Linked DNA regions of Homo sapiens: all the other regions are linked to region 2. Evidence: promoter capture Hi-C in 16 types of primary human blood cells and fetal thymus (Javierre and others, 2016). All regions are on one chromosome and are shown on one strand. The core of a region is centred on a gene start or on the middle of the fragment in contact, and the rest is flanking DNA. Distances in the headings are between cores, read along the strand shown. Region 1 overlaps PDZD2 (PDZ domain containing 2). Region 2 holds the start of PDZD2 (PDZ domain containing 2). Region 3 has its middle 54 kb from the start of GOLPH3. Region 4 overlaps PDZD2 (PDZ domain containing 2). Region 5 overlaps PDZD2 (PDZ domain containing 2). Region 6 overlaps PDZD2 (PDZ domain containing 2).

Region 1 (4,541 bases), core at 1,234-3,733, 370 kb after region 2:
AGGCTGAGGCAGGAGAATCGCTTGAACCCAGGAGGCAGAGGTTGCAGTGAGCTGAGATCGCGCCACTGCACTCCAGCCTGGGTGACAGAGTGAGACTCCACTTCAAAAAAAAAAAAAAAAGATATCAAGGGCCCTGAGCAGTGTAGCTGGTTATAGCAAGAACTGGATAAATGTTTGCCTTATGGTTATCACAGTTTATTACCTTTAGCTTATTATTACATACATTATTAATATAGTTATTACATATTACTTTAACCTGCTTTTTCACTGAGTAGCATACTGTAAGAATCTTTCCATGTTAGGAAGTACAATTTTTTTTTTTTTTTTTTGAGACAGGGACTTGCATTTTTGCCCAGGCTGGAATTGAGTGGTGTAATCATATAGCTCTCTGCAGCCTGAAACCTGAGGCTCAAGTGATCCTCCCATCTTAGCATCCCAAGTAACTGGGACTACAGACACGTGCCACCATACATGGCTACTGTTCGTTTGTTTGAGACAGATTTAAACAATTTTTTGTAGAGGCAATCTCTCTCTGTGTTGCTCAGGCTGGTCTCAAACTCCTGCCCTCAAGCGATCTGCCTACCTAGGACTCCCAAGGTAATGGGATTACAGGCATGAACCACTGCCAGGCTCAACACCTTTTTTTTTTTTTTTTTTTTTTTCCTGAGACAGAGTCTCGCTCTGTCACCCAGACTGCAGTGCGGTGGTACAATCTTGGCTCACTGCGACCTCCGCCTCCTAGGTTCAAGCTATTCTTCTGCCTCAGCCTCCTGAGTGGCTGGGACCATAGGCACGTGCCACCGCATCTGGCTAATGTTTATATTTTTAGTAGAGACGGGATTTCACTATGTTAGCCATGCTGGTCTTTTTTTTTTTTTTTTTTTTTTTTTTGAGACGGAGTCTCGCTCTGTCTCCCAGGCTGGAGTGCAGTGGCGCCATCTCAGCTCACTACAAGCTCCGCCTCCCAGGCTTACGCCATTCTCCTGCCTCAGCCTCCTGAGTAGCAGGGACTACAGGCGCCCGCCACCACGCCCGGCTAATTTTTTTTGTATTTTTTAGTAGAGACGGGGTTTCACTGTGTTAGCTAGGATGGTCTCAATCTCCTGACCTCGTGATCCACCCGCTTTGGCCTCCCAAAGTGCTGGGATTACAGGCTTGAGCCACCGCGCCCGGCCTGCCATGCTGGTCTTAACCTCTTGGCCTCAACTGATCCACCCGCCACAGCCTCCCAAAGTGCTGGGATTACGGGTATGAGCCACTACACCCAGCCCCAGCACCATCTTTAATGGTCGCAGAGTAGTCTATCCTGTATCTGCTATGCCTTTACTTCACAGTTGGGATTTAAAAAAAAAAAAAAAACACTCTTTTCGGTTAATCTAGCAGAAGTAGAATTGACATCACAGAAGAGGACTGAACTCACTTTTTTTTCCCTTTCCTTAGATAAGGCCTAACAATATAGGATTCACAATTACTGATTCAAATTATCTTCAGGTACTTTGAAGGTGGAACCAACGTGAAACTAGTAACAAACATCACTGTCGCTAGATGCCAGCTTGCTAATATTCAGTAACATCCATTGTTTAAGATGGGTTTCATTCATTTATTTTTTGGTCCTCTTTTCTGTTAACCCTCACGCAATGTGATTAAATATGATTAAGACGTTCTGTGTGTTTCCTTCCTTGTGGAAATGGCCAACGCAAAGGACTGAGAGAACAGGTAGCTCTTCTTGCTCTCTTTCTAGAGCCATGGATTCGCTCTAGAGCCCCAGCCCCCTCCCTGGCCCCTGGCCCTCATGTGCTGCGGCATTTCCCCGGAGGGCTCTGGCTCCTGTGTGGTCCGCATTTGCAGCAAGGCCTTCATGATCTCACCTGCGTCTTACAGCCTACTCTAGCCTTAACCTGTACATAAGATCAAAGGGCTGTGTGTTGGCGATGCCCCTTCAGAATCTTATCCAAATGGAGTCTGGGCCGGGCGCGGTCCCTCATGCCTGTAATCCCAACACTTCGGGAGGCTGAGATGGGAGGACTACTTGAGGCCAGGAGTTCGAGACCAGCCTGGTCAACATAGCGAGACCCCATCTCTATAAAATAATAAAAATAAATAAATAAATAAATAAATAAATAAATAAATGGAGTCTTATTCCATGTATTTTTGTTGACCTTTAAAAGTTGTTCAAGGACTGCCTTCATTGAAAAAGACCTTATCTGACATTTTGATTCAACAATCTAATCTCTTTTGTTTCTTTTTTTTTTTTTTTTCTTTTTTTTGGAGATGGAGTTTTGCTGTTGTTGCCCAGGCTACAGTCTCAGCTGACTGCAACTTCCGCCTTCCGGGTTCGAGGGATTCTTGTGCCTCAGTCCCCCAAGTAGCTGGGATTACAGTTGCCCGCCCACCACACCTGGCTAATTTTTGTATTTTTAGTAGAGACGGATGGGGTTTCACCATGTTGGCCAGGCTGGTCTTGAACTCCTGACCTCAGGTGATCCACCCGCCTCGGCCTCCCAAGTGCTAGGATTACAGGCATGAGCCACTGCGCCCAGCCAGTTGAATCTCTTTCTAATGAGCATATGCTAGGGAAATGAGCACAGGAGCAGGAAGGAGGAGATCATGGATATGTGAGCTCTGGGCTAGGCCTGGGGACACAGCAGTGAATGGAAATGGTGTTAGGTGGGAGCAATTCTCAGACACGCAGGGGAGATATACAAGTAGACACACTGCAAGGGGATGAAAGCAGTAGTCAAAGACTTTAGAGAAGAAAGGAGAGGCAAATGGAGTGGCTCCTGAGATGACCCAGGTGGGCTTTCGGAAGGAGAGGTGTTCAAGCCTTGCCCGCGTGGGCCTCAGTCGTGAAAGGAAGGGTGGTCCCAGCAGAGGGAGCTGCTGGCGGAAAAGGCAGTGGGCAAGGAAGAGTCCAAAGGGTTTGGAAGGCAGTATGGCATCAGAGTGGGTTGGTGGGGAGACAGGAGGAGGGGGATGAGTTTGGAGAGTGGGGCAGAAGCAGCTCTAAAAGATACTGATCTAGCCGGGCTCGGTGGCTCATGCCTGTAATCTCAGCACTTTGGGAAGCCAAGGCAGGCAGATCACGAGGTCAGGGGTTCGAGACCAGCCTGGCCAACATAGTGAAAACCCCGTCTCTACTGAAAATACAAAAATTAGCCAGGCATGGTGGCGTGTGCCTGTAGTCTCAGCTACTTGGGAGTTGAGGTGGGAGAATCGCTTGAACTGGGGAGGTGGAGGTTGTGGTGAGCTGAGATTGTGCCACTGCACTCCAGCCTGGGCAACAGAGCGAGACTCTTGTCTCAAAAAAATAAAAATTAAAATTAAAAAATCAATAAAAAAAAGATGCTGACCTCTTTAGACAGCATCCTGAAAGCAGTCCAGGGGAGGCCAGCAGAGGATCTTGGGCCAGGTGCGGTGACTCACTCCTGTAATCCCAGCACTTTGGGAAGCCACAGCAGGAGAATGGCTTGAGCCCAGGAGTTCGAGACCAGCCTGGGCAACATAGTGAGACCTTGTGTCTACAAAATAAAAAATTTTAATTAGCCAGGCATGGTGGTGCATGCCCTGTACTTCCAGCTACTCATGAGGCTGAGGCAGGAGGGCCACTTGAGCCCAGAGGTTTGAGGTTGCAGTGAGCTATGATTGCACCACTGCACTCAGCCTGGGTGACAGAATGAGACCTTGTCTATTAAAAAAAAAAATGATTGTTTTATAAAGGGATCTTAAATTCAGGGAGCTTGGATTGCCCATAGAAACACTGAGCTAAAGGCTGGGTGTGGTGGCTCACGCCTGTAATCCCAGCATTTTGGGAGGCTGAGGCAGGTAGATCACTTGAGGTCAGCAGTTCGAGACCAGCCTGACCAACACGGTGAAACCCCATCTCTATTAAAAATACAATGCCAGGTGTGGTGGCTCATGCCTGTATTCCCAGCTACTTGGGAGGCTGATGCAGGAGAATCACTTGAACCCGGGAGGCGGAGGTTGCAATGAGCCGAGATCACGCCACTGCACTCCAGCCTGGGCAACAGAGCAAGACTGTCTCAAAAAAAAGAAAAAAGAAAAAAAAGAAACAGCTAAGAATCATACATTCTCTGTGGGGAAAAAATGGATTTGGGTTTAAATTGGGTCCACACCCCTGGCCTTTGAGGTAACCTTGCAGACACAGAACATTTACTCCATGTAGTCTTTGGTTTGGGAGCATGTAGCTTGACTGTGCCAGGTTGCCTTCAAGAACTGCTTGGTTCTGGGGAGTAATTCATGGATGGGCCTTTAATTGTGTCCCCATAGGAAAACTCCGCAGAGGACCTCCTCAGGTTAACATCTAAGAGCTTGCCAGATCTGACCAGCTCGGTAGAAGATGTGTCCTCCTGGACTGATAACGAAGACCAGGAGGCAGACGGGGAAGAGGACGAAGGAACCAGCTCTTCTGTCCAGAGAGCAGTAAGTGGCTCTGTGCTCCTGGCTTTCTGTTGGAATTACTTTTTTCTGAAGTCCTGGGCGCCAGGATTAGGGGATAAATGCTTGAGATAGTATGATAGAGA
Region 2 (4,268 bases), core at 24-2,523:
AAGCTCTGAGTGCCTGAGTGCCCAGCTTGTCATATACGATGCTTGGATTTGTGCAAGCATTGATCTCAATGGCCTGGTAATTATAAAAGCTGAAGAACAGCTGAAATCAAGAACTTCTCCACCCCAGCCCCTGAGGACAATACCACCTCCAAATGCCTTGGGCCCACTCTGGTCTCTGGTGTGGTGGGACAGCGCTGTCCGGTCTGCGCAGGTGATTTATGTCTGCCTGCTTTTCGGAGAGGCCAGAGTTTATTGCCTTGCTGGGCAGAACTGCAGCTGGGGCCTGCCCTGTCCCATCCCCATCCCCCCGAAAGCAAAGATTTCCAATTACTGTTCTGTAGAAAATGTCAAAAGCATTATTCAACTATTCATTATCCCAGGTTTTGCAATTTTTCATATGTTTTTACTCTTATCTGCCAGCACTTGAAAAAGACCAGCTTTTTCCTCTTAAGAGAGCTTAATTTGCAGAGCTGTGCAGTCTTCCTATTATGTTCTTATCATCCTCTCCCTTTGGTAGGCAGAATGACAAGGATGACAAAAAAAGAACCAAAAATATTTGAAGGCCTTCCTGAAAATCCACCGGAATGAAGGATCCCAAAAGCCTGAGGCTCGGTTCCTCGAGTGACCTGGACGGGAGCCAAGGGCGGCTGGCATTAGCTCTCACAGTCCACTCGGCAGGAGCTCGTGGCTAGTGCTCATGGGACCAAAACCACCACCCCAGGGCCATGGGATTCCCCCCCAGGGGCTTAACTGGGGGATTAAGCAGCTCTGAGGTGCCAAGAGGTCCCCTCTCCCCGAAATCCTCGTACCAGTGCTAAATTACCTTTGGTATCCCAAGGACCAGAGGCTAAGGGTAGCTTGGGGTGAGTGGTTAGCTCTTCCCCCATCTCCTGTGGCCCCTCCGCCCCATTCTTTGATAAGGTAACTGACATTTTTCTCTTTGCTGTGTAAAGTGCTATGCAGAGGCAACTTCACGTCCCCTAGCTCGCTCTGTTCCACCTAGATGGCGCCCTAAGCCCCGCCTGTATGGAGATTCGGAGCAGCCATCTCCCTGGATGCCTTCCTCCCACGATCCCCAGGTTTCTGAAGCGGGCGCACCAGGACTCCTGGCTCACCCAGAGAGACGCCTTGCCCGCGGCGGGGCTCGCTCGGGGAAATCCCCGCCCACCTTGTTATTCCTGCAGGGGAATCCCCGCCCCCCGTCCCTGTCACTCGGGGAAGGGAGTTCCCGCCCCTCGAATCAACCAGGGGGAGGGAATCCCCGCCCATCCTGGAGGCTCGGCGGATCCCCTGCGCAGCGAGGCGAGGAGCGGACCCCAGCGCCGGTGCGTGCCGGCCCCGGGCAGCGGGACGCGGCGGGGCGGCGGCTGCAGGCAGCCGAGGAGCCGCAGGCCGAACCCAAGGCACCGGGATTGCGCCTCCCGCGGCTGCCGGCGAACCGCGGCTCTGCAGCTCGGGGCAGGCGCGGCGGCGGCACCGGTGGTGGCCGCGGTGGCGGCAGCTGCGCGGGGACCCGCCGGGCGGCGCCTGGGTCTGGACGCGCGAGGAAGCCGCGGGAGCCTCGGCCAAGCCGCGAGCAGGTGAAGCGACCGTCCCGCTGCAGCCGGGACGCGCGGCTCCGGGTGGGCAGGGGATGGGGGAGGCCCGGCACCCCCGAGACCGTGTGTGCCCAGGAAAGTTTAGCTACAAATCCGGGTGCGGGAATCCCAGCCCTGGCAGGGCGGGGAGTGAGGACGCCGAACCGGGGTCCCACGTTGGGCGGCGCAAACTCCTCTAGCATCCGGCCGGGGACGGGGAGGGCGCAGCCCAGGGGAGGGGGCTAGACAGAGCGGGACCGAGACAGCGGGACAACCGGAGACGCACTGCCGGGGGTACTCAAGACAGGGCCGGGACCTCCTGCTCGGGCGCGCATCCCGGGTCCCCATCCCTGGGCCGTCTTCTGGTCCCTTCCTCCGACAGGAGTGGAGGTACTCAGGTACTCCGGCCTCAGGTAATGTCTTGGGGACCATCCTCCCTCGGGCTTGTTTCATCTCTCAACCCCCGCCTCTTTGCCCAGATGAGACGTTAGACGCGGGGCGAGGGAATGCAGGGGGCGCGCAAAGATCAAGGGCATCTTAGGGCCGGTTATTGGCGTCTGCCGGGGAGATGGGGAACATAGTGATAGGGAAATCCTGCTCTCTCTCTGAAGTCGAGTTTCTCCTAAAATCTGGTTTCTCCCTCCCTCTGTTCCTCTCTCCCTCCCTCGGGTTTGCGTTTGTGTTTTAAGTCTTTGAGCTGCCTGTGGTCCCCGCTATTTGGAAAATCCATTAAAGCGCAAGGCTGAATTCAGCAGCAGGAGGGTCCAGGACCCCTGGCAGGAGTTTGCCAGAAGCTGTCCTCGGCAGCCCAAATCTATGCAGAGACCTTGATAAGGGACACTGGAGTGGGAAGAGGACAAGGTCTGGCATGGGCTGGTCGCAGAGACTGGAATGGCAGGCACGAGGGCATTCCAGAGCTCCAGACCTGCCCTGGGACTGGCCGTTGGGCAGTGTTGGGGGATGGAGCTGAGTCTGAGTCTGTCCCCTGCAGCTGGCCTAACCTCTTGCCTCCACCAAAGGTAGGGTAGGTGGATATGTTTGCCTTGACAAATCGCAATGAAACTACTGGAAGTGGTTGCTGAGTGGCTGCAGTAAGTGATGCCCTGATCTGTCCTTGCAGAGAGACCCCCTGGACCTTCAGGGCCTGTTCTCCAGTGGGGTCTCTGAACACTGGAGGGCTTTAGGGGCCTGGCATCTCTACTGGGCCAGCTTTTGTGGGTTGTGACTTCTGGGTGGTGGCCAGATAGGTACAGGTTGGCAGGTGTGAAGTGGGAGTGCTGCTTGTGGGGGCAGAAGAGAATGTCTCAGAACACACCCCTGGCTGTAGGTGGTGGTTCTGGCTTCATGAATTCCTTCTTCCATTAGGATGGGCCCAGAGCTTCTGCTCCTATAATAACCACCTAGTTGTGTGAGTGAGTGTGTGTGTTGCGGGGGTTAGGTGTAGGAGTAGGGGGGTGGCAGGTGCTAGGAGAGGAAAAATCAGAACCATGTAAAGTATATAAATGTACCTACCTTGACATAGTTAATATGCTCCTGGAAAAATATTGAATTATACTTTAAATCTATCGCTGAAATTGATTTTGCATGTACTTTATGGCAGTTTACTATTTAAGGAAACTTATGATAATTTCTCTGTTCATTTCAATCATTTTATTTTTGGAATACCTGTGGTTTGCTGTGCTGGAGGCTGAGGAGGCTTCGAGGTTCCAGGATATGCTTAGATGAAAGATGCTCCCTCGCTGCTGTCAGTTTGTCAGTTTCTGTCCAGCAGGAGAAGGGAGAGAAGCCTGCTAAGCACTATGGTGCAGACCAGTGCACATGCTGCATGTAGTAGACGCCATGTGTTTATTGGATGAAGGAGTGAAGAGATAATTAAGTGAGTAAAGTACCTGAAGAGTGGTCCAAATAAAACATTTTGGGAGTATGGAGGAAAAAGAAGTCACTTTTGCCAGAGAGGATCTGAAAGGCTTTGTGGAGGAGCTCTTAGGTAGAAGTCGAGAGGTTGATCCTGAGTTAGGACTCAGTGCTAAGGACTCAGAGGAACTAAGGACTCAGAGGAACTAAGGACTCAGAGGAACTTAGTTCTCCAGATAGTAGGGAGATGTGTGAGATATTTTTTTTTTTTGAGACTGGGTCTCATTGTTGCCCAGACTCAAGCAATCCTCCCACCTCAGCCTCCTGAGTAACTGGGATCACAGGTGTGTGTTACCACAACCAGATAATTTTTGTGTTTTTTGTGGAGATGGGTTTCACCATGTTGCTTATGCTGGTCTCGAACTCCTGGGCTCAAGTGATCCTGGTGTCTTGGTCTCCCAACGTGCTGGAATTAGAGGCATGAGTCACTGCGCCCAACCTGGCCCCTCGTTCTGCTCCTACACAACCCTTTAGCACACTCACCATGCTGCCCTGGGTGTGTTTCTTTAGGGCCTTATTTTTTTCATACCCAGATAAGGCCTGGAACAGTTGCTAATCAACTTCCTCAGGTTAGACAGGAAAAGAGGCAGAGGGAACACCCCAGACCCCACTACCCCCGGCTGATCATACTGTAGGGTGTTGTGGAAACCCTCTCCCAGAGGCTCCAGGCCTGGTGAGCTGAACAAGATAACACAGAGCTGTGGATACCCCCTTGCCTTTGATCATGTGGGCCTAAGTGACTCGGACCATGGTGGTGGGGGCATCTCTGTTGGAAGG
Region 3 (4,251 bases), core at 772-3,271, 480 kb after region 2:
ACATTTCCATCTGAATTGTCAATGTAAAATCATAAGGCACTTTATTTTTCATTTTTTATTGTGGCAAAATATACATGGAGTTTACCATCTTAACTTTTTTTTTTTTTAAGATAGTCTTGCTCTGTCACCCAGGCTGGAGTGCAGTGGCGCAATCTCGGCTCACTGCAACCTCTGCCTCCCAGGTTCAAGCAATTCTCTGCCTCAGCCTCCCGAGTAGCTGGGATTACAGGCACCCGCCACCATGCCCAGCTAATTTTTGTATTTTTAGTAGAGACGGGGTTTCACCATCTTGGCCAGGCTGGTCTTGAACTGCTGACTTTGTGATCCACCCGCCTCAACCTCTCAAAGTGCTGGGATTACAGGCATGAGCCACTGCGCACGGCCCATCTTAACCATTTTTTAAGTACACAGTTCAGTGACATTAAGTCTACTGACATTGTGTAATCACCACCATCCATCCCTGCAACTTTTTGTTTGTTTTTTGAGACGGAGTCTTGCCCTGTCACCCAGGCTAGAGCGCAATGGTGCAATGTCAGCTCACTGCAACCTCCACCTCCCGGGTTCTAGCAATTCTCCTGCCTCAGCCTTCCAAGTAGCTGGAATTACAGGCACCCACCACCACACCCGGCTAATTTTTGTATTTTCAGTAGAGATGGGGTTTTACCACGTTGGTCAGGCTGGTCTTGAACTCCTGACCTGAGGTGATCCACTCACCTCGGCCTCCCAAAGTGCTGGGATTACAGGCGTAAGCCACCACACCCAGCCCCATCCCTGCCACTTTAACTTCCCGCACTGAAACTCTGTGAGGTACTTTTCATAAACACATACATACACCACACAAACACACATAAGATTTTCCCCCAGAAGCAATGACCAAGGCAGTAGTAACAAGTATTCTGAAAGCCCAAATTACGGTCTCGAAGTACCATTTCATGCTAAAAGAAACATGGCTTGTTGGAAAAATAGATGATTCCAGATACAGGGTAGGAAATATACAAAATGAACCTGAAACATCTGAGCCATACCAGGAAGTTATCAAAGACTACTAAAACTATCAAAAGGACTCCAGATCCTTGAAGAGAGTTCCACTGGCCAAAGATAGGGCATTTTGAGCATTAATAGGGCTAATAACTGTAGACCAAAACACATAAAAGAATGATTATTCCATTACACTAAGTGAAATAAGGCACAAAAAAGACAAAAAAAAAAAGATCTCGCTTATATGTGTAATCTAAAAAAGCCAATCTCATAGAAAAAGAGTAGAAAAATGGTTACTAGAAACTGACGGGAAGGGGAGAGATAGGGAAACAAACGTTGTTCAAAGGATACAAAGTCTCAGACTAGAGGAATCAAGTTTTAGTGATCTATTGCATTGCATGGTGACAACAGTTAATAATGTATTGTGTTTCAAAATTGCTAAAAAGGACTATTTTTAGTATTCTTACCACAAAAATATAAGTTGGTAAGGTGATGGTTATTTTAATAAGCTTGACTGAATCTCCAATGTGTACAAAGACTAAAACATTACATTATACCCATAAATATACACAATTATTATTTGTCAATTTAAACAGAATGTGTTTCCATAAGTTCATAATACTTTAAAAATTAAAGTTATTTTTGGAGGGTGCCATGGAATCAGCTGTATTTTGAAAATAGGTAAATAAACTGTAAGAATTATTCTACCTTCCCTCTATGAATTATAGTAAAACGTAATGTAGATAACACGTCTCTTTATAGAAATATTCTAGCTAAAAAAAAAAAATAATAATGAGGGCCAGGCGCCGTGGCTCAAGCCTGTAATCCCAGCACTTTGGGAGGCTGAGGCAGGAGGATCACAAGGTCAGGAGTTTGAGACCAGCCTGGCCAATATGGTGAAACCCTGTCTCTACTAAAAACACAAAAATAGAAAAATAACCGGGCATGGTGGCAGGCGCCCGTAATCCCAGCTACTCGGGAGGCTGAGGCATAAGAATTGCTTGAACCCAGGAGGCGGAGGTTGTATTGAGCCAGAGATCACGCCACTGCACTCCAATCTGGGCGACACAGTGAGACTCTGACTCAAAAAAAAAAGAAAAAGAAATAATTGCCGGGTGCGGTGGCTCACGCCTGTAATCCCAGTAATCCCAGCATTTTGGGAGGCCGAGGCGGGCAGATCACAAGGTCAGGAGATCGAGACCATCCTAACATGGTGAAACCCCATCTCTACTAAAAATACCAAAAAATTAGCCGGGCATGGTGGCAGGCACCTGTAGTCCCAGCTACTCGGGAGGCTGAGGCAGGAGAATGGCGTGAATCTGGGAGGCAGGGAGGCAGAGCTTGCAGTGAGCTGAGATCGGGCCACTGCACTCCAGCCTGGGCAACAGAGCGAGATTCCATCTCAAAAAAAAAAAAAAAAAAAGAATTATTAAAATATCACATTGCAACCCCAATAAATAAGAATTGAAAAGCAAGGCTGCTAACATCACAAAAGGAAAATATGAGACATTATGTGCCTCCTGGTGGAAGCATACACCACCACTGATTAGTGTTGCCTACACAAACAAACCTGAATCTAAGCTTCTAGAGCCAATTACCAATTCTTGGGAAATGCAGTGTAGAAGTCAAACACCTTAAATCACACCTTGTGGAAACCATCAACAAAATCCAAACCTTGGAAAACTCTGCAGGACAAATGATCCAATTTCATCAACAAATATTTTGCAAAGGAAAAACAAGAGAGAGATGGGGGAAGAACCTACAGATTCAAAAAAAACTTAAAAGACATATCAAATGAAACAAAACAATACAATTAAAGATTCACACTGGGTCAGGACAGTACTTACTCTTATGAAGACTGTAATTGGGAGAAAGACTTGAACAGCTTCAGGGTATAGCTGGCAAGGTTCTATCTCCTGACCTGGGTAATGGCTGTAAACATGGGTGCCTTAAATTAATTAATGTAAATATTTGAGATTTTCCATTTATATTTTAATCATAAAAACTTTTAATGAAATGCTTATATACATATTCTTAACCTAGACATTTCGACTTTTTCCATTTTTAAATTTGATCATACCCTCCCAAAGTTAATATATATCAAATCTGACCACCAGACATCTCTTTAGAAGAAGGATCTCCACAAATTGCATGCTCAAGCACTGCACCTTACACTTTTCTGAATGTTAAAGAAAGCAAAAGCAAAACTTACCATCTGCCAGCTCCCAAGACTGGGAAAACAACTGCATCATAGGCTTAAGTCCTCGTGAATCAGTACATAAAAAGATCAATGCCCTTCAGAAAAATGAATAAAGAACACGAACAGGTAATTCACAGGAAAAATACAAATTACCAAAAGGCAGTAAATGATAACCCCTCAATAATGAACATAGACTAGGAGTGATGATATCCTCCACAGAGGGGTCCCCAACCCCCAGGCCACGGACCAGTAATGGTGGTCTGTTAAGAACCAAGCCACACAGCAGAAGGTGAGCAGCAGGCAAGCGAGCAATACCACCTGAGCTCCACCTCCTGTCAGATCAGCAGCCACATTAGATTCTCATAGGAACTCGAACCCTATTGTGCACCTAATCTAACTAATGCTTGATGATCTGAGGTGGAACAGTTTCATCCTGAAACCACCCCCCAAACCCCAGGTCCATGGAAAAACTGTCTGCCACAAAACTGGTCCCTGATGCCAAAAAGGTTGGCGACCACTGCTCTGCAGTATTGGCTAGGGTATAGGAAAACCAGCATTCACCTTACTGTCAGAAGTGTAAGTTACCATAAAGCTTAGAAATCAATTTGGCTTTATCTTTTACATTTTCAAGGTATATTATTTGAGCAAATCCATTTCTATTAAATCCTTCTAGAGAAATGAGAAATAAAGACATAAAAAAGTATGCTACAATAGTGTAATAATGTAAAATATGAGAATCATCTAAATGTCCATTAATGGGAGATTTAACTAAGCTATACAACAAAGCCATTCAAAAGAATGATGTGTACTTACCCTGAAATCTCTCCACAACATAAAGTTGTGCAAAAAGTGCAAAAAGTAAAATGCACATCAGTGTATAAGGTAGCCACACTACACCAATTGTTCTATCAGGAGTAAATATCTATATAATTCTGGGCTGAGAAAGTATGACTACCGGCTTAACTAAACCATGTTACCGTCCATACCCCTTTGAAGGATAGCCCGCAAGGTCATGAATATTAATACCACCACTTTACTGATGCTGTTACAGAATATATGACATTTGTGCAGAA
Region 4 (4,354 bases), core at 167-2,666, 430 kb after region 2:
ACGACACATTCTGAAAGTGGGAGTTCTTTCTTTGGTTTATCTAATACAGATGGCTCCACGGGAGACCAGAGGAACCACATGGGGCCTTGAGCCAACGGACATAGTATGTCACTGCAGCTCCTTACATTTTATCATTGTAAAGATACCCATATAGTCTTCTGTTGAGAATGAAATATTATTATTATTATTATTATTATTATTATTATTTGAGACGGAGTCTAGCTCTATAGCCCGGGCTGGGGTGCAGTTTCGTGATCTCGGCTCACTGCAACCTCTGCCTCCTGGGTTCAAGTGATTCTCCCGCCTCAGCCTTCTGAGTAGGTGGGATTACAGGCATGCGCCACCATGCCCAGCTAATTTTTGCATTTTTAGTAGAGACGGGGTTTCACCATGTTGGCCAGGCTGGTCTCAAACTCCTGACCTCAAGTGATCCTCCCACTGGATGATGGGATTATAGATGTGAGCCACCACGCCCGGTCTGAGAATGATTTATTAAATGACTCTTTCTTACTTACAAGTTTTACTTGGAAGGAAAGAGAGAAGATCCTTCAGGTCTAATGTTAGCTGCTTAGCCTGGGTACCACCAGCCCATGTGAACCTGGTATTGAACAGGAGGCAGAGGCACCAAGGAGGCCCTGGGGGTGAATTGGGATGGGTGTGGAGGTTGTGAAGCAGGCAGGCAGGCTGCCAGGCATCAACAGACGGACTATCCTTCCCTGTCTCCCTCCAGCCAGGGCGATTCAGATCATCTATTCTCATCCTATATCAAATTCATTACCTAAACATTTATTGAGCTTCTACTGGGTGCCAGGCAGTGCCAACATACCAGGGATACACAATTAATTAGAATGTATCTCAAGAAACTTGCAGCCTACTCTGAACCTGAAGTTCACGGGACCTTTACCAGGACATTACGAACTACACAAATGTGGGAATAGATTTGCAATTGTGGACGGAATCAATAGCTTCTATCAAATTCTCAGTCATTCATGACCCCAAGAATGTTAAGCATTTTGTTAGAGTGTGAGGATGTTACTGTTGTTAGACTGATGAAAGACAAGACCCAATTTAAAGAGTGGCTCCTCCTCTGTCTAAGCCAACCTTGACCTGAGCAGAGTACTTCTGTAATTAAGGCCTAAGAGCCCACTAATTTTTTTCTCAGCATCAGCGTCACACTCTTGGACCCATACGGAAGTTGCAGATAATCATGGTCCCTACATTGTTGGACTTGGCTGTTATTTGGTTATATCTCTTCTATACTTGTACAGTTGCCTTTAACTTTTTGAAGCTAACCATAGGACACTTCAGCAAGCTCAACTCAACCCAATTTTTTTTTGTTTGTTTTTGGACGCACAGAGGAAAAGAAGGAACCAACTCAATTCACTTTTTTTTTTTTCTCTTTTTTGAGACAAAGTCTCTCTCAGTTGCCCAGGCTGGAGTGCAGTGGTGCAGTCTCAGCTCACAGCAACCTCTGCCTCCCAGGTTCAAGTGATTCTCCTGCCTCAGCCTCCCGAGTAGCTGGGATTATAGGCGGGCGCTGCCACGCTCAACTAATCTTTTGTATTTTTAGTAGAGATGGGGTTTCACCATGTTGGCTAGGCTGGTCTCGAACTCCTAACCTCAAGTGATCCACCTGCCTTGGCCTCCCAAAGTGCTGGGATTACTAGCATGAGCCACCACGCCCGGCCTCAATCCACTTTTAACACTATTTTTTATTCTTTTGAGCGCTTGTTGTAAAAGTCTTTTTAAATTAGCTTACCTCTAATGTTGTGGTTAAGTTGTATTTAAGAAAATTTAGCTTTTCCTTTCAGCAACTCAAAATGTTCACTAAGGGCGGGTGCGGTCGCTCACATCTGTAGTCCTAGCACTTTGGGAGGCCAAGGTGGGTGGATCACTTGAGGTCAGGAGTTTGAGACCAGCCTGGCCAACATAGCAAAACCACGTCTCTACTAAAAATACAAAAATTAGCCGGGTGTGCTGGCGGCTGCCTGTAATCCCAGGTACTCAGGAGGCTGTGGCACGAGAATCACTTGAACCCAGGAGATGGAGGTTGCAGTGAGCCAGGATCGTGCCACTGCACACCAGCCTGGGTGACAGAGCAAGACTTTGTCTCAAAAAAGTAAAGAAATAAAATCAAAGTGTTCATTAAGAATATTACCTCTTGGCCGGGTGCAGTGGCTCATGCCTGTAATCCTAGCACTTTAGGAGGCCGAGGTGGGCAGATCACTTGAGGTCAGGAGTTCGAGACCAGCCTGGCCAACATGGCAAAACCCTGTATCTACCAATAATACAAAAATTAGCCAGTGTAGTGGTGCATACCTGTAATCCTAGCTACTCCAGTGCTGAGGAAGGAGAAATCACTTGTACCTGCGAGGTGGAGGTTGCAGTGAGCCAAGATTGTGCCACTGCACTCCAGCCTGGGCCACACAGCGAGACTTTGTCTCAAAAAACAAACAAAAAAAATACTTCTTACCCATGCCTGTCATATGGGCATACCTTGGTATTCCTTGTAGTGTTGCTTAATTACATCCTAAATGTTCCCAGGCTACTGTGCTTGATGGACTGGTACACCACTTTAAGAGTAAGAAGTCTATGCCAAGAGACCTTGTGGGTCCCTCTATGTGCCATATCCGAGATTTCTTGGTGGCATCAATTTAGACACTCAGTGATGTTCATTTGTGGTCCTTGTCCTCCCCAGGATAAATTAGTGCTATCAAGCTATGGCTCTATGTCTTGATCTGGGGATGTGATGTCAACAACAGTGCTGGGACAAAATTGCCGTTAGACTAATGCAAAGGCAACTCTGCTTTTCTTCAGATTGTGTTCCCTATATGCATCCTCAGAAAGGTCTTGCATCCAGAGTTTTTTGAATAAATAATATAAAACCAGGCCGGGCTCTGTGGCTCACGCCTGTAATCCCAGCACTTTGGGAGGCCAAGGCGGGTGGATCGCCTGCGATCAGGAGTTCTAGACCAGTCTGGCCAACATGGGTAAAACCCTGTCTCTACTAAAAATATAAAAATTAGCTGGGCGTGGTGGCAGGCGCCTGTAATCCCAGCTACTCGGGGCCGAGGCAGGAGAATCGCTTGAACCTGGGAGGCGGAGGTTGCAGTGAGCCGAGATCGCACCATCACACTCCAGCCTGGGGGACAAAAGCAAGACTTGGTCTAAATCAATCAATCAATCAATCAATCAATCCAAGTACCAGCTGGGCGCAGTAGCTCACATGTGTAATCCGAGCACTTTGCAAGGCCAAGGCAGGTGGATCATTTGAGGTCAGGAATTCGAGACCACCCAGACCAACATGGTGAAACCCCATCTCTACTAAAAATACAAAAAAAATTGTCAGGTGTGGTGGTACATGCCTATAATCCCAGCTACTCGGGAGGCTGAGGCAGGAGAATTGCTTGAACCTGGGAGGTAGAGGTTGCAGTAAGCTAAGATCACGCCACTGCACTCCAGCCTGGGCAACAGAGCGAGACTCTATCTCAAGTCAATCAATCAGTCACTCAATCCAATCAAACCAACCAAGTCCTGCTTCCACCTTTTTCTGTTTTTTCCTCCTTGTCACCTCCCATTTTTCTCCTTTCTATTCTGTGGTTCTGACATCTTCACTTAAAATCTGTTCTCTTTTGTTTCACTGCTGGCTCTCTTTGCCTGAAGGTTGCATCTAAAGCAGTTCTCAGCTCCTTCCTCCAGAATCTCCCGTTGGAGTCTACCACCCACATCACCTCCTTTCACCTCGGGAAGCAGTCCAGTAACCTCTGGCTGCCCTAATTCATCCGTCAGCAATGTTACAGAAAACTGAGTTTTCAGTGGTTTGCAGTCATTGGCTTCAAGGCATGTCTGACTTCAAAATAACAGCATAACATGGGTCATGATTTGTTCAGAGGTCTAGTTCATCTCAGCTCCAAAACTCCTGCCTATTTTGCCAATACAATCAAACATCCAAATGGCATTTCAGCGCAAAGCATCATATCTGGTGGCCGCCATGCCATTGACCATACAGGTTCATCCATGTTTCTAGCCACAATAAAATGGTCGTCTGTGATAGTGTTGGAGCTATGTCCGGCATTTGGTTAAATGCCAGTGTTTGTTTGACTGGATTTCATGTTTCTTCCTAGGTAAACGTGGTGTTCTTAGTTGTAACCTCATGCTGTATTTTTCTTTTGGTTAAGATTCCATTTTATGTTTAATGTATTTTTGTACCACTTAGCCCAGCATTTCATGCCAATGGTACATTTTGATACTGAATGTATGTGCTTGCTTAGTTTTCTTGTTATTCCAAGAGAAATACCACAAGGATTTCTTTTCTTCTGTTTCTCATAATGTCTGGAGCGGTTGCTGCCCAGTT
Region 5 (4,797 bases), core at 153-2,652, 270 kb after region 2:
AATGAAGGCATAAGAAAAGGATCAGGTGGCTGGGCCCGGTGGCTTATGCCTGTAATCCCAGCACTGTGGGAGGCTGAGGCGGGCAGATTACGAAGTCAGGAGTTCGAGACCAGCCTGGCCAATATGGTGAAACCCCGTCTTTACTAAAAATACAAAAATTAGCCAGGCATGGTGGTGGATGCCTGTAATCCCAGCTACTCAGGAGGCCGAGGCAGGAGAATTGCTTGAACCCGGGAGGCGGAGGCTTCAGTGAGCCGAGATCCTGCCATTGCACTCTAGCCTGGGTGACAGAGCCAGGCTCCGTCTCAAAAAAAAAAAAAAAAAAAAAAAAAAGAAAGAAAAGGATCAGGTAGTAAATAGAATCGAATAACATCTTTATCCATGTTGGAGATTTTATGTATATTTAAAATGCACAAAGATAGTCTACATTTCCCTCTATTTTCTTTTATTTTTGGTTTGATCCTTTTTTTGTTTGAAATTTAAGCAAGGCCCCGCCCCCGCTCCCCATGAGCGCAGCTCCAAGCTCCGGGCTCCTAGAAGGCAGCGCCACTGGTCGTCTCCCTTTAGCTGCCATCGGCCGCCATCATGATTATCTACTGGGACCTTGTCAGCCATGATCAGGTGTGTTCACGAGATCCGGGAGATCTCAGACTGGCTGTGCGTGGAAGTGGAGGCGAAGATGGTCTGTAGGAGAGAGGGTAACACTGATGACTCGCTCATTGGTGGAAATGCCTCCGCTGAAGGCCCCGAGGGCGAGGGCACGGAAAGCACAGTAATGGCTGGTGTTGATACTGTCATGAACCATCACTTTCAGGAAACTAGCTTCACCAGAGAAGCCTACAAGAAATACATCAAAGGTTACGTGATATCAAAGACAAACTTGAAGAACAGAGACCAGAAAGAGTAAAACCTTTTATGACAGGGGCTGCAGAGCCCCTTGCAATCATGTCAAGCACATCCTTAGTAATTTCAAAAACGACCAGTTCTGGCCGGGCGTGGTGGCTCACGCCTATAATCCCAGCACTTTGGGAGGCTGAGGCGGGAGGATCACTTGAGCTCAGGAGTTTGAGACCAGCCTTGGCAACATAGTGAGACCCTGTCCCTACCAAAAATACAGAAAATTAGCTGGCTGTGGTTGGTGCACACCTGTAATCCCAGCTACTTGGGAGGCTGAGGTGGGAGAATTGCTGAACCCGGGAGGCGGAGGCTGCAATGAGCTGAGATTACTGCACTCCAGCCTGGGTAACAGAGCAAGACTCTGTCTCAAAACAAACAAAAAGCTACCAGTTCTTTCTGTATTGGGGAAACCATGAATCCAGGTGGCATGGTTGCTTTACTGGACTACTGGAAGGATGGTGTGACTCCATATGTGATTTTCTTTGAGGATGATTTAGAAATGGGAAAATGTTAACAAATTTGGCAGTTGCTTTGGATGTATCACCTGTCATCGTAACTGACTGCAGCTTGTCATCCACACAACAACAGGACTTAAGAAAATGGGAATGATGTCATCTTGAGCTCTTCATTTATTTCGACCATGCTTTATTTGGAATGGAGGCATTGTTTTAAGAAAAGCACGTCATGTAGTTTGTCTAAAAATAAAATGCATTTAAACTCAACAAATCTAAGCAAAAGAGATCATAAGGGCATTAATTTGGGGAGCAGGGACATGTGGTTAAGATGCTTTTTGATAACAGTTTGAATTTTCTACGCTGATTAAAAAAAGAGAAGAACATTTTCTTTTACCGCATACAGTAGAATATAAACCCCATACATAATAAACAAGAGCTACAAAAAGGTTTTTGGCCAACATTAATATACACGAAATACTATATTTAGTATACTAAAAGGATAACAATTCAGTTTACTACTAATAATACAGTGATATACATGAAATAGTCATGTATAGCTCTAATATTCACATATATAATTAAAATCACATTTAAAATTTAAATGACATTAATTTTGAATATTCCTTTTCCCACTCATATAGTTTATGAAGCAAATTTATTCAAATAATCAGAGCCAAATTTTGAGTCAGCTGAGTCAGTTTTAAGGGTGTATTGCGTTCCATCTTTATTATTTGAAAGACTGTAATATTTATATTCATGTACGGTGCTGTCACTGGACATTTTATCCAAGACCACAAGTATTCATATAACCCTGCCACAGTTCCTCCATACCTTCATCCCTTCATCCTATAATTGAAAATAGCTTACGTTTATGGATGCGTTTACTACGTGCCAAATACTGTCATCGGTGCCTTACATGTATTAACTCGTTTATGCAGAGAAATCTGTGAGATTGATACCTTATCTCACTTTATTCAGGGAACTAAGGTTCAGAAAGGTCAAATAACTTACCTATGCGCTCAAAGTCACATAGTTCATGAAAGGCAGAGTCAAGATTCAAACCCAGCTGTGGAGCTCCAGAGTTCCTGCATTTTTTTTTTTTTTTTTTTGGAGACTTAGTCTTGCTCTGTCGCCCAGGCTGGAGTACAATGGTGTGACCTGGCCTCACTGCAACCTCTGCCTCCTAGGTTCAAGCGATTCTCATGACTCAGCCTCCCAAGCATCTGGGATTACAGATGCCCCACCACCATGCCTGGCTAATTTTTATTTTTTCTTTTCCTTTCTTTTTTTTTTTTTTGAGACAGAGTCTCACTCTGTCAACTGGGCTGGAGTGCAGTTGCGCAAATTCCGCCTCCTGGGTTCAAGCGATTCTCTTGCCTCAGCCTCCTGAGTAACTGGGATTACAGGCACTCACCACTACCCCAAACTAATTTTTTTGTATTTTTAGTAGAGATGGGGTTTCACCATGTTGGCCAGGCTAGTCTCGGACTCCTGACCTCGTGATTCACCCACCTCGGCCTCCCAAAGTGTTGGGATTACAAGCATGAGCTACCACACCCAGCCTTTTTTTTTTTGTATTTTTAGTAGAGACAGGGTTTCACCATGTTGGCCAGGCTGGTCTCGAACTCCTGACCTCAAGCTATCCATCTGCCTCAGGCTCCCAAAGTGCCGGGATTACAGGCATGAGCCACCACGCCCAGCCAGTTCCTGCTTTTAACCGCCATGCTACTCTGCTACAAGAAAATATAGCACTTAAAATGGTGAGATTATCTCCCCTAGGCATAATTTTTAAATTTAATATTAAATTGATTTCCCCCCTTTATTTTAAACCAGTTCTGTTTAAGCATCTAAAATTCCCATTGATATGAGATAATTGTGTCTTCTCCCAATAGTAATTTGTCATCCAAATTAATATAATTGAAAGAGGTTCATAATATAATTTGTACAGACTCAAATATGTAACAACTTCCTCTTTTATAATAATGTTAGAGAAGAGAAAATATAACCTTATATTTTGACATGTATGGTATGTAAGCCAAATCAATTTGTGATGATTTGATGGGATAGTTACACTATTTCTGAAACAACTGCTGGTCACTAGGCACTGTACTAGGCTGTTGACATATTACCTATTTTCTCTGAAACTCTATAAGGAAAGTAGCATTGTTCTAGTTTTGTAGATGAATCAATTCAGGCTCAGATAATATGAGAAACTTGTCCAGCACAATACAGAGCCTGGGGCAGTAGAGTTGAGACTCACCCTTTGTGGAGCCATCGCTAAAGCTTCTGTTCTGTGGATGCCACCATGTGGCTTCACTGGGCATACAGAACTGGGTTCAGAAGCCCCTGACTTGGAGCACGTGGCCACTGCATCGCCCCTGTCAGCTGACTCCTACAGTCCTTCCCGCTTCCTTTCGTTTCTCTGTTTTCTTGCCGAGTCTGGCAGGACTTCTGGCTGCAAACAACAGAAATTCCTGTAGCTAGTTTAAGCAGAAAGGGATGTGTTAACGGTTGTTGGTTAGGTGGTTCACAGAAGTTCTGGGAAGAACCAAGAATCAGGCTTGGATGTGATGGAGCCAGGAAAAGAGCCAAACCATACCATGAGTCTGTTCTAGCAGAAAAATCATGCTGCCTCCGCTGGCTGCTGAGTCCCCAGGAGCTGAGGGGATGAATGCCAGGACTGCGCTTCTCTTCTGCCATGCTCCTCAGAAGGCCTGGATCACAATGGGTGACCCTTGCCGCCTCTGTCACTCACACTGCATCCAGGTTATACTGGGATGCTTCTGATTGGTAGAAATAAGCTCACACGCCTGCAACTCTGGCTGCAATGGGGTATGGTTGTTTCACATTTTCTGCTAAATGGGGATTGAGTGAATCAGTCTACAGTGTCTGCCGTACTTAATCCACCCTGGCCCCGGCCCCAGCCCCAGCCCCAGCCTTGGCTCTACTACACAAAAGACCAGACAGTGTCTTAGTCCATTTGGTCTACTATAACAAATACCATAAATGAGACGGCTTATAAGTAACAAACTTATTTCCCATAGTCTAGAGGCTGGGAAGTCCAAGATCCAGGTATTAGCTGATTCAGTGTCTGGTGAGGGTCTGCTTTCTGGTTCATAGACGGTGCCTTCTTGCTGGGTCTTCATATGGTGGAAGAGGCCAGGCAGTTCTCTAGGGTATCTTTCATAAGGACACTAATCCCACTCATGAGCGCTCCTCTTTCATGACCTTATCGCTTCCCAAAGGCCCCACCTCCTAATATCATACCTTGGAGGCTGAGATGGGCCTCCCAAAATTTGTATGCTAAAATCCTAACCCCCAAGGGGGTTCCTCCAATTTTGGAGGAACACAAAGATTCAGACCATAGCAGATGGGTGTCCCATTTGTGCCTCATTCTCTAGTGCTTTGGTGGATACAGACTGAATTGATTGACATTTCTGTGCTT
Region 6 (4,224 bases), core at 430-2,929, 390 kb after region 2:
AGGCCCTGTTCCTCTTCCATGAGCCTGGTCTCTGTGTTCTTTGTTAGCTTTCCTGCTGATTCTGATGCACCTCAAAGTTTCCCTAGGCCATTCTCAGCCCCTGAGAATCTGCCTCGGAATCAGACCTGTGTAAATCAGTGGCCACGTCGGTCACTTTCACTCTCTCGGTCGTTCCTTGGGCCACTGCTTCCGCCTTCATGCCCACTTCCAGAGGTCCTCTTCTGGCAACTTCTGAGCTTTGGGGGAGTTCTCTGTGTGAACGTTCAGCCTTCTCCAGTCCACACTTAGGATTCAGCTTTCTCAAGTCAGATCCATTGCCACGTGGTTGTCAGCTTGCTGGTTTCCAGAATTTGTTGCTTTTGTCTTCTGTTTTCTTTATCCTTGTAAATTATGTCTGTCTTTTCCTAAAAAAAATTTTCCCTGTCATGTTAGTGTGGTTTCAAAGGGAAATCAGGAGAAATCTGCCACCTTTAGTCAGAAACCTATGTTATTTAATTCCCAAATGCAGGCCCATTTTTCAGATGAGGACACTGACGTTCAAAGAGGTTGACTGACGTGCCTAAACTGCAGTAAAATGGTATAATCAGGATTTGTGCCCAGGTAGCTGGCCGGATTCTCAACCACTCTGCCCCACTACCTCTCTACAAAATCAGATGCTAAAGATGCTTCTTCATTGAGTGCTGTGTATGTTACAGGTGTGGAAAATGATGCAAACAGGAAGGCTCTACCATGGAAATTGGCAAATTCTATGAGACTCCATTAATATAATGGGATTGTTTTGTACTACACTTGATGTTAGCCAAGAGGCCGAGAAGCAATAATGGCATTGTTTTGTAACACATGAATTAGAAACTGCTCATGAATAATAGATTTTATCAACTGTTTCGCTGAACTGAAGGCCTTCCAGGAGAACATTTTGCAAATTTCGTTTCAGAACAGCTAAAATGACATCATTTCCAGAACAGTTTGCTCTGTGCATTGGGAACAAAACCACACACAGAAAAGGGACTCTCTTAGAGTGTGGACATTTTCAGACAATAGTCAAAGTGTAATCAAAATTGCATTTTATATTGCTACTTCCTGACATAATCTGGAATGAATGTGTCTAAGCAACCCACTTCCTGTTCAGTGAGTTACAAGTCGTCTAATATCACAACAAACTCAACGAAAAAACAGTTTTTTGTTATAAGAGGAAACAGTTCCATTTAAATTCATTCCCCACTGCTAACCCTTTCAGTGGGTTCTGAAATAAGATGTCACTCCTTCCTTGCTCAACAGCAAGAGCTCTCTGCTTGCAACTCTTTGAGATATCTCTAGGTCCATTCTTACTGGCTCTAGCTACAGGCATTAGGTAGCCACATACACCATCTCTCTTTTTTTTTTTTTTGAGACAGAGCCTCGCTCTTTTGCCCAGGCTGGAATGCAGTGGCGCGATCTCGGCTCACTGCAACCTCTGCCTCCTGGTTTCAAGCAATCCTCCTTCCTCAGCCTCCCAAGTAGCTTGGACTACAGGCACTCACCACCACACCCGGCTAATTTTTGTATTTTAGTAGAGATGGGGTTTCGCCATGTTGGCCAGGCTGGTCTTGAACTCCTGGCCTCAAGAAATCTGCCCACCTCGGCCTTCCAGAGTGCTGGGATTACAGGTGTGAACCACCACGTCTGGCTCACATATACCATCTTTAGCATAAGATTTCTTTGACATAAAAAACCTACTGGCATTTTGTAGATCATAGAAACTGAATCTGTCTATCATGACCAGAAACCTTTCAGGCAGGCTCCTTTCCTTCTCAGGTGCTCAGAAGTGCTTGTATCATCTCCAAAATGTCTCTGATCCTATGAAAACCTGGGGCTGTGTTGGGAAAATAAAGGAGAAGACAGATGCAGAAAACTTCCTAAGTCCAGAAACAATAGGCTGGCATGGTTTTCCTTGCTCGGCATGAGCATCTCAGACAGACTTTCCAACGTTTGGGACCTTGGCCACTGTGTAATAAGCTACCCATTTAGTAGGCACCAAAGGCGGTAATGTCTTACAAGCCAGGGAATCCCTTACTCTGAAGGTCGATAGCCTGGGTCAGGTGGTATTATCAGAAGGAACCAGGAATTTTTTTTTTTTTTTTTTTTTTGACACAGAGTCTCGCTCTGTCACCCAGGCTGGAGTGCAGTGGCGCAATCTCAGCTCGCTGGAACCTCTGCCTCCCAGGCTCGAGCTATTCTTGTGCCTTAGCCTTCAGAGTAGCTGGGATTATACAGGCACGTGCCACTATGCACAGCTAATTTTTGTATTCTTTGTAGAAGTGGGGTTTCACCATGTTGGCCGGGCTGGTCTTGAACTCCTGGCCTCAAGTGATCCACCCGTCTCCGCTTCCCAAAGTGATTACAGACGTGAGCCATCACGCCCAGCTGGAACCAGGAATTTAACTCACTCTCTGGTAATTGCTGTTCACAGTCTGGAGACAGTATGGAAAGAACCTGGAGACAGGTTCTTTGCATAAAGTTTTTAAGTCAAGCAAAGGGGAGGCTCTAAGGCTTTTCTCTAGATTCTTCCATTTGTATGTGGCCCAGAGCTCAGGATGTCTCAGAGATGGCTCTTTCTTCTCTGTGTACATATTGATGTCAGGATTTGGGGTTGGGAAAGACATCCCTCCAGGGAATCTCTAAAATCACCCTCAAGATTCTGTTCCTGCTTTTTCTTCACAATTTAAACCTGAACACCTGCCAGTTCCTGATAAGGTAATATGAATGCAACAGATTTATTACCTTTGTTTTGTATGTCAGAATTAATTTGTTTTCTCAATGCCCCTTTCTCAATTTTGCCTACGTTTCCTCATTCTCAGACCTTTTTATTCCTGTTTCTAACCCAGAAAGATACTTGAACTTGAGGAGGAAGAGGGAATCTTCCAAACTTTACATATTGTATACAGAATTTGTATATAAACAATTATTTCTTAAAAGAGATTACCTACGTAATTACTCTAACTGCTTACTTTATACGTTTTTATGTATTGAATTTTTTTTTTTCTTTTTTGAGATGGAGTCTAGCTCTGTCACCTAGGATGGAGTGCAGTGGCGTGATCTCGGCTCACTGCAACCTGCGCCTCCCAGGTTCAAGTGATTCTCCAGCCTTAGCCTCCCAAGTAGCTGGGATTACAGGTGTGTGCTACCACACCCAGCTAGTTTTTGTATTTTTAGTAAAGACAGGGTTTCACCATGTTGGCTAGGCTGGTCTTGAACTCCTGACCTCAGGTGAATTTTTTTTTAAGAGAAAGAAAGGGTCTTGCGATGTTGCCCAGGCTGCTGATGTTGACCTCCTGGGCTCAAGTGATCCTCCTGTCTCACCCTCCTGAATAGCTGGGACTACAGGCACCCGCCACTGTACCCAGCTATATACTGAATTTAATATACAACATATAATTTTCATTACCTGTTAATTTGAGGGTGAGAAGTGACACTATAATTACATCACCTTTTGATAACTGGTAAGAGAAAATGCAAATCAAGAAGCTTTTGAATACATACAAAAAGCACTTTAAGTAGGACCAGGTTGATTTCTCCCAACCCCAATTGGGAGGAAGATTCCTGCCAGTTGAGTTTAACTTCATAGTCATGAACTCCAGACAACTGTCAGGCTGAATGGCATCTTTAAGAGAAGCCAGGAATCTTTTCATCATCAACCTTTGTTTTGTTTTGTTTTGTTTGTTTGTTTGTTTTGAGACAGAGTCTCGCTCTGTCGCCCAGGCTGGAGTGCAGTAGCGTGATCTCGGCTCACTGCAACGTCTGCCTCACGAGTTCAATCAGTTCTCCTGCCTCAGCCTCTCGAGTAGCTGGGACTACAGGCACCCGCCACCATGCCCGGCTAATTTCACACCCGGCTAATTTTTTGTATTTTTAGTAGAGACGGGGTTTCACTGTTTTAGCCATTAGCCAGGATGGTCTCGATCTCCTGACCTCGTGATCCGCCCACCTCTGCCTCCGGGCATGAGCCACTGCACCCGGCCTCATCAACCTTTCTTTACTTGATACCTTATATGCCTTTTTAAGTATGTATATCTTACTTAGTGAGAATATTACCTATTTTAATATAAGACTGTTTTCCTCTAGAACCTCAAAGGAAAATAAAATTTCAAATGGGAAGATTTATTGTTTGATGTATCTCAAAAGTCTTGTACATGTAAATTTACCCCACAATTTTTTATAAACACTCTGAAGTGCATGTGTCTCATT

Evidence for each region. Contacts are between HindIII fragments. The CHiCAGO score rates a contact against its expected background, and 5 or more counts as called.
Region 1: a fragment that was not itself captured here is called in contact with the fragment with the promoter of PDZD2 in region 2 in 3 of 17 cell types (total CD8 T cells, naive B cells and total B cells); the score reaches 6.4 in total CD8 T cells.
Region 3: a fragment that was not itself captured here is called in contact with the fragment with the promoter of PDZD2 in region 2 in 5 of 17 cell types (total CD4 T cells, erythroblasts, naive CD4 T cells and 2 more); the score reaches 6.6 in total CD4 T cells.
Region 4: a contact is called between a fragment that was not itself captured here and the fragment with the promoter of PDZD2 in region 2, in 11 of 17 cell types (M1 macrophages, M2 macrophages, megakaryocytes and 8 more). The highest score is 7.2, in M1 macrophages.
Region 5: a contact is called between a fragment that was not itself captured here and the fragment with the promoter of PDZD2 in region 2, in 1 of 17 cell types (M2 macrophages). The highest score is 5.3, in M2 macrophages.
Region 6: a contact is called between a fragment that was not itself captured here and the fragment with the promoter of PDZD2 in region 2, in 1 of 17 cell types (total CD4 T cells). The highest score is 5.7, in total CD4 T cells.

Annotation. Positions count from the first base shown.
Region 1 is chr5:32,006,043-32,010,583 of GRCh38, forward strand. It overlaps PDZD2 (PDZ domain containing 2), which reads left to right. Exons shown (of 25, transcript NM_178140.4): 6 at 4,288-4,440. Among named protein-coding and RNA genes, the nearest start is that of MIR4279, 72 kb to the left of the region's middle. The HindIII fragment of the contact is 6,764 bases long and covers 1-4,541 here.
Region 2 is chr5:31,637,858-31,642,125 of GRCh38, forward strand. PDZD2 (PDZ domain containing 2) reads left to right here and starts at 1,274. Exons shown (of 25, transcript NM_178140.4): 1 at 1,274-1,580. RefSeq lists a silencer at 1,228-1,577. The HindIII fragment of the contact is 6,072 bases long and covers 1-4,268 here.
Region 3 is chr5:32,118,670-32,122,920 of GRCh38, forward strand. No RefSeq gene overlaps it. Among named protein-coding and RNA genes, the nearest start is that of GOLPH3, 54 kb to the right of the region's middle. The HindIII fragment of the contact is 1,072 bases long and covers 1,486-2,557 here.
Region 4 is chr5:32,062,855-32,067,208 of GRCh38, forward strand. All of the region lies in intron 14 of PDZD2 (PDZ domain containing 2), which reads left to right. Among named protein-coding and RNA genes, the nearest start is that of GOLPH3, 110 kb to the right of the region's middle. The HindIII fragment of the contact is 7,208 bases long and covers 1-4,354 here.
Region 5 is chr5:31,907,776-31,912,572 of GRCh38, forward strand. The region is part of intron 2 of PDZD2 (PDZ domain containing 2); the gene reads left to right. It also overlaps the pseudogene TPT1P5. Among named protein-coding and RNA genes, the nearest start is that of MIR4279, 26 kb to the right of the region's middle. The HindIII fragment of the contact is 4,461 bases long and covers 1-3,633 here.
Region 6 is chr5:32,032,251-32,036,474 of GRCh38, forward strand. All of the region lies in intron 6 of PDZD2 (PDZ domain containing 2), which reads left to right. Among named protein-coding and RNA genes, the nearest start is that of MIR4279, 98 kb to the left of the region's middle. The HindIII fragment of the contact is 3,645 bases long and covers 1-3,502 here.